Linked DNA regions of Homo sapiens: region 1 is linked to region 2. The links are contacts of gene promoters, found by promoter capture Hi-C in human tissues and cell types (Jung and others, 2019). All regions are on one chromosome and are shown on one strand. Each heading gives the region's core, a stretch centred on a gene start or on the middle of the fragment in contact. The rest is flanking DNA. Distances are from core to core; before and after follow the strand shown. Region 1 overlaps ATP9A (ATPase phospholipid transporting 9A (putative)). Region 2 holds the start of ATP9A (ATPase phospholipid transporting 9A (putative)).

What was found. The method cuts DNA at HindIII sites, captures the fragments that hold promoters and counts their contacts. A contact is called where the count stands out against the background at its distance.
Region 1: a fragment that was not itself captured here is called in contact with the fragment with the promoter of ATP9A in region 2 in 3 of the 25 tissues and cell types used here (H1 embryonic stem cells, liver and stomach).

What each region holds. Positions count from the first base shown.
Region 1 is chr20:51,673,534-51,677,132 of GRCh38, forward strand. ATP9A (ATPase phospholipid transporting 9A (putative)) reads right to left here. Exons shown (of 28, transcript NM_006045.3): 10 at 2,599-2,675; 11 at 620-780. Among named protein-coding and RNA genes, the nearest start is that of ATP9A, 93 kb to the right of the region's middle. The HindIII fragment of the contact is 6,386 bases long and covers 1-3,599 here.
Region 2 is chr20:51,766,766-51,769,954 of GRCh38, forward strand. ATP9A (ATPase phospholipid transporting 9A (putative)) reads right to left here and starts at 1,625. Exons shown (of 28, transcript NM_006045.3): 1 at 1,537-1,625. The coding sequence starts at 1,604. The HindIII fragment of the contact is 32,964 bases long and covers 1-3,189 here.

The sequences.
Region 1 (3,599 bases), core at 525-3,024, 93 kb before region 2:
TCTCAACACAGCAGTCCCAACAGCCACTATCAACCTTGCAGAGCTGGCTGATGACAGGAGCTCTAAATGGCATCCCTAGCATAGGGAGGCAAGGCAAGGAAAGATCTCTGATTCAAGAAAGGATGGCTTGTGGAGGAATGTGATCTTCTGGTGCTAGAGCCTCAGTGTGGTTCACACTCCTGACTGATTGCTCTTGGTCCTCACTCTACAAAGAGATCTGCTCCTTCTAAAAGCCGATGGGCGCGGTGGCTCACACCTACAATCCCAGTACCTTGGGAGGCTGAGTCAGGTAGATCACCTGAGGTCAGGAGTTCAAGACAAGCCTGGCAAACATGGTGAAACCCCATCTTTACTAAAAATACAAAAATTAGCCAGGCATGGTGGTGCATGCCTGTAATCCCAGCTACTTAGGAGGCTGAGACGGGAGAATCACTTGAACCTGGGAGGTGGAGGTTGCAGTGAGCCAAGATCGCGCCACTGCCCTCCAGCCTGGGCAACAAGAGCAAAACTCCATCTCAGAAAACAATAATAATAATAAAAGCCACAGAACCATCATCTTTGAATGAGTAAAGAGAAGAAGATGTCACGGCAGCCAAACTCAAGCTCGTCGCCTGCTTACCTAATGGGGATGATGTTGGAAAACAAGAGGAGGAAGCGGATGATCTGCAGGTACCAACGGCCTGCAAAGTGCTGAAGGGCAACCATGACCAGCGAGACCACCACCAGGGCACCAAAGAGGATCTTGGTGAGGCAGTTCACTTCCAAGTCGAACAGGCCGATCTGTGGGACGAAGCACAAACCAGGGCTTGAGATGAGCTGGTGTAACTAATCTCAAACCTAAACCAGGAGGTGGAGGCTGCAGTGAGCTGAGCCTCACTGCACTAACTCAGCCTGCCGGAGAGCTGGTCCTTCCCCTACAAACACCTCTACCCCAGGTAGGACAGTGGGATCCATCGATCCTCATATCTTTGGTCTAAGAACACTGCTTCCATGGGCTGGTGTTCATAACAGGCATCCAAGGGAACTCAAAGAATTCTGAAAACTCAAAAAAATGTTTACAACTAAAGAAGATTTACACTTGGAAATGTATCAGCGAGTTACTGCTGTGCTGGCTGGGTCGTGTGCTGAATAGCCTCCACCACCCTGCAGAGTGCCCTTGGCCTTGTAAAACAACTCAGATCCTAAACTCTCAGCACCCTACCCAACACCAACTCGGCAGTGCCTGAAAGTCTGGGGCGCACACCAGTGGTGGCACCCGATTTTTAGGTGGTGCATTAATGGACATTATTTTATTATTTATTTATTTAGAGATGGAGTCTCGCTTTGTCACCCAGGCTGGAATGCAAGGGCACAATCTTGGCTCACACCTCCTGGGTTCAAGCGATTCTCCTACCTCAGCCTCCCGATAAGCTGGGATTATGGCGCCCGCCACCACACCCAGCTAATTTTTGTATTTTTAGTAGAGACGGAGTTTCGCCATGTTGGCCAGGCTGGTCTCAATCTCCTGGCCTCAGGTGATCCACCTGCCTCGGCCTCCCAAAGTGCTGGGATTACAGGTGTGAGCCACCGTGCCCGGCCCTGGACATTATTATTTTAATAATAATACATTTATCTTCATGTCTAGTCTTTTAAAAAGTAACAAATCATATCCATAACTTCATAGAAACATGCCCCAGGATAAGGCTAAAACATTAAACAAACGATTTTATAGTTGTAATGATGGCTGTAACGTCTAATGGTGGAGCGACCATGACTGAAGTTTAGGAGACACAGCATTCCTTCCTGCTACTGACAAAAGACAATTATTCTGTAATGTTCTGACTCTTAAAAATTGGAGGAGGGGTAAGCTGTGATGGTGGGTCACGGTTTGAATCACATGGGCCTGCCCCGTCCTCACTGTGTAGCCTGGACAGGGCACGGTGCTTCCTGAAGCCGTTTCTCATGGATAAAGGAAGCATGCACTCACAGGGCTGTTATGAAGATGAAATGAGATGCACGTGAAGGGTGAAACACAAGGCGTGCAAACCGTACGTGCTCCACAGTTTAACCTAAAAGCACAAAAAATGCTGGGCGCCATGGCTCACGCCTGTAATCCCAGCACTTTGGGAGGCCGAGGAGGGAGGATCACTTGATGTCCGGAGCTTGAGACCAGCCTGGCCAACATGGTGAAACCCCATCTCTACTAAAAATACAAAAATTAGCCAGGCATGGTGGTACACGCCTATAGTCCCAGCTACTCAGGAGGTGGAGTTGGGAGGATTGCTTGAGCCCGGGAGGCAGAGGTTACAGTGAGCCAAAATCAAGCCACTGTATTCCTGCCTGAGCAACAAAGTGAGACCCTGTCTCAAAAAAAGAAAAAAAAAAAAAAGGCACAAAAAAGTCATATATCCACAAACATGTAACTACATATTTACGTACTGTATTATATATGTGTATTGTATATGTATTTATTGCATACACACACACACATATGCATAAAAAGATAAAATGTCTGTATAAATATCACTCTTAGGTGTTCCTATTTTAATATCTCGTCACTCACCCACCAGAACCAACCAGCCCACAGCCGGTCAATGTACCCCATGACCTCGTACACACCTTACTTCGGGGATTTGAGGTATTCATGACACTCCGGAGTTCTCTGCCAGTGTAAAGAACAACACCCACAACAGTACCTAAAATGGAAAAAAGAAAAAAAAAAAAAGAAAAGAAATATTAATACAGACAGGCAGGCTTGCAAATAGAAGAGTCTGATCCTCTTGAGAGACTGGGTTCTTTTTTTTTTTTGAGACAGAGTCTTGCTCTGTTGCTCATGCTGGAGTCTGGAGTGCAGTGGCACAACATGGGCTAACTGAAAGCTTCCCACCATGTTCAAGCGATTCTCCTGCCTTAGCCTCCTCAATAACTGGGATTATAGGCGTGCACCACCATGCCTGGCTAACTTTTGGGTTTGTTTTGTTTTGAGGCGGAGTTTTACTCTTGTTCCCCAGGCTGGAATGCAATGGCGTGATCTCCGCTTACTGCAACCTCTACCTCCTGGGTTCAAGCAATTATCCTGCCTCAGCCTCCGGAGTAGCTTGGATTACAGGCACCTGCCACCACACCCGGCTAATTTTTGTATTTTTAGTAGATACGGGGTTTCACCATGTAGGCCAGGCTGGTCTTGAACTCCTGATTTCAACTGATCCATCTGCCTCAGCCTCCCAGAGTGCTGGGATTACAGGCATGAGCCACCACGCCCAACCTCAATTTTTGTATTTTTAGTTGAGATGGGGTTTCACCACGTTGGCCAGGCTGGTCTTGAACTCCTGACTTCAACTGATCCATCTGCCTCGGCCTCCCAAAGTTCTGGGATTACAGGCATGAGCCACCACGCCCAGTCTCTTTTTTTTTTTTTTTTTTTTTTTTTTTTGAGAGAGGGTCTTACTCTGTTGCCCAGGCTAGAGTGCAGTGGCACAATCATATTAATAGCTCACTGCAGCCTCAACATCCTGGGCTCAAGCGATCCTCCCACTTCAGCCTCCCGAGTAGCTGGGACCACAGGCACATGCCACCATGCTTGGCTAATTTTTGTTTTTTTTGTAGAAATGAGGTCTCAC
Region 2 (3,189 bases), core at 375-2,874:
GGAGGCGGAGGTTGCAGTGAGCCGAGATCTCGCCACAGCACTCCAGCGTGGGCAACAGAGGGAGACTCCGTCTCAATAATAATAATAATACTAATAATAATAAACGCAAAACAGAGAAGGGAGGAGTGAGGGAACTATCTTTGGGTCAGACAATCCGGAGTTCAATCTCCATTTTGCAGTCTTCCCTATAGCCCTTAACCTCCGTAACCTCCAGTTTCCTCCTCTGGGTAATATCAGTGAGGCCTCTTCTTCGGAGGATTCAGGAAGCCAGGGACAAAGACCCCACAAAATGGCCGCCAGCACCATTCTTTTTTTTTTTTTTTTTAATTCCACTGACACCTGGTGAAGCCACCCTTATGGTTCACTCCACCCGCCGCGTCTCCTGTTCCGAGCAACTGACGCTGCAATAAGCGGCCGCCACCGGGAAATGCCCAGAGAGGACCAGACGCCCGAGGAAGGGCGGAGCAGAGCGGCCGCAGGCCCCGCCCAACACCGCGCTCAGCCTCCCGCGGGCTCCAGCCTCACCTGCGCGGCCTGTGGAGCTGCACATCTCCAGGCCCCGCCCCCCAGAACTCTGATTGGCGGGTCTAGGCGGGGGCCGGGAAATCTGCATTTGCACCAGCGCCCACCCCCGTCCTTCCCACCCCCGCCCCTCACGCCCAGGTAAGTCTATGGCAGGCGATACGAGAGCCCCGCAAACCTCAACGCGTCACGCTGCCATCCTCCGAACAGGAAGACGGCGAGGCGCAAAATACCAACCCGTCCCCTCTTCCCAAATGCAGAAAAACCCTTGCCTGTTCCGCGCCTAAGCTGCCCTCGGGGTCTCCTACTGCGGGAAGGGCACAGCAGGTGGCAGCCCCTGTCCCAGCCGTGGGATTCCTTCCCCGAAATTGTGGGGGGAGAACACAAGGGGTAGTGTCACCAAGCGGCCAGTAGGAGACCCTCCCACCCTCCTGCGACTGCTGGTTCGGGTCCACCCCGGGCGGAGGGGGAAGGGGCCACCGGAGCGCAGGTGGTCTCGGCGCAGCCTCCTGGGGCTGGGACCCAGGGGCGCTGATGGGGTACCCCGAGGCGTAGGCCGCGCCCCCCTAAAAGCTGAGCATATCTGGGCTCCCGAGTAATGCTCCAAGCGCAGAGCTCGGTGTGACACTGACCAAATTGTTACCTCAGATATTAATTACGGACAGATATTAATTACGGAACAATAAAACGGTGAGAAAGCACGGCTGATCCGAATTCCGCGAGTGTGTAAACAGCACTGGGGCGGGCCCGGCTTCTCGGGGTTTCTAAAGGAAGGTGGGCAAGGAGGCCCAGGCAACCGGGCGCTCGAACCCCAAAGGGCCGGCATCAGGCTAGGTGCCGCCCGGGGCTGAAGCGCAGGGACCCCCTCCCCACCTCCCCGCCTCCCCAGCCCTGCCCCAGGCTCATGGCGCCGGGCGCGGCGCGCGGCCAACCTGTCAGGCCCGGCCAGGCTGGCCCGAGCGCCGGGCTCCGGGAGGCGCGGACAAAGGAAAACACGGGCCCAGGCCCACTCACCCGGCGCGGGGCCTGCTGTCCATCCGCTTCTTCTGGCGCACCGGCTGCAGCGGGATGTTGTCCGTCATGTCGGCGGCGCCGCCCGCCTTGGCCGCCGCGCCCCCCGCGCCGCCTGGGCCGCCGCCCGGTCCGGCCTCCGCGCCGCCGCCCGCCGGCGCCGCGCCGCCCCGGGGGAGGAGGCGGCGGCAGCGGGCGGGCCGGGCCCGCAGCGAGGGGGCGAGCTCGCGAGCGCCGGGCCACGCGCGGAGCGCCCGCGCGGCCCGACCGACGGACACGGGCGCACCATGGGCCCGAGCTCCGCGCTGCGCCCGCTCGCTCCGCGCCGCGCCGCGCCTGCCACGGGGGGCGGCCGGGCCGTGTCCGCGCCGCCGCGACCGCTGCAGTGTCCCCGCCCCCGGCCCGCGCCCGCGCCCCCCACGCGCGCCCACCCGGCCACGCGCCCCCCGCCCACGCCCGCCGTGCGCGCACCCTGCCACCGCACCCCCCGCAAAATCCCACATTCACAATCACATCCCAGCCCTATACACGCGCGCTGTGACACTCATCCCCACCAATATCTGACATGCACAATCACACGGGCACCCGGCCACGCTCACCCCATCAGTCAGTCATTCTCACTCACTCTTGCACCAACGTGCATATTCACGCCCAGGCCCTACACACACACCTGCCACTGCTCACTGCCTGCAACATCTAACATTCACAATCACATGTGAGTCCTGCACACACACATAACACTCTCACCCTCCTGTTGGTCACCATCATCCATGCACCCAGTTTCTCAAGCCTCACACCCATGTGCCTGCAGAAATCACAGTCACACAGGGACCCTCAGCTTATCAGACTCCTTCACCCTCTGACCTTCACCATCCTCACCCTCATTCTCTATCTGGATTCTGGGAACTCACCATGACACACACGCACCTGCCTCTTTCATCCAAACACCCTTCAATAGTCTGAACACCCTCATTCTCACACCAGCCACTTTCTTGGGCTTGCACATGGGCCCCACTCTCAGGCCTCAGACAGTCACCCTGCATTACCTGTCACTGTGATTCACGGTCTCACACACACACCTATCTCCACCGCAGCCCACATCCACACTCACTTCCACACCCTCCCACACAGTGTCTGGGACCCATGAACTTTTCAAAGGCCTGATAAAGTTATGAGAGCAGGAAAAAAAAAACAGAGGGAAGGAACAAAGTGAGGGAGTTTAAAAATCAATATGTAACTAAAGAGCCTGAAATTGTAATAATACCATATAAACTAATCTAAAGCTGACTTTTACATAGTTACATCTAATGACTGATCATGTTGGACGCCGTTTCTTTTTTTTCTTTTTGAAACAGAATCTCCCTCTGTCGCCCAGGCTGGAGTGCAGTGGCAAAATCTCAGCTCACTGCAATCTCTGCCTCCCAGGTTGAAGCAATTCTCCTGCCTCAGCTACCCGGGTAGCTGGGGTTATACATGTGCCTGGCTAATTTTTGTAGTTTTAGTAGAGATGGGGTTTCACCATGTTGGCCAGACTGGTCTTGAACTCCTGGCCTCATGTGATCTGTCCACCTCGGCCTCCCAAAGTGCTGGGCTCTTCCTTGGCATTTGCTAAATGCCATAGAGATTTAATTGGGATGAAGGAAGAGCATCCGGCCC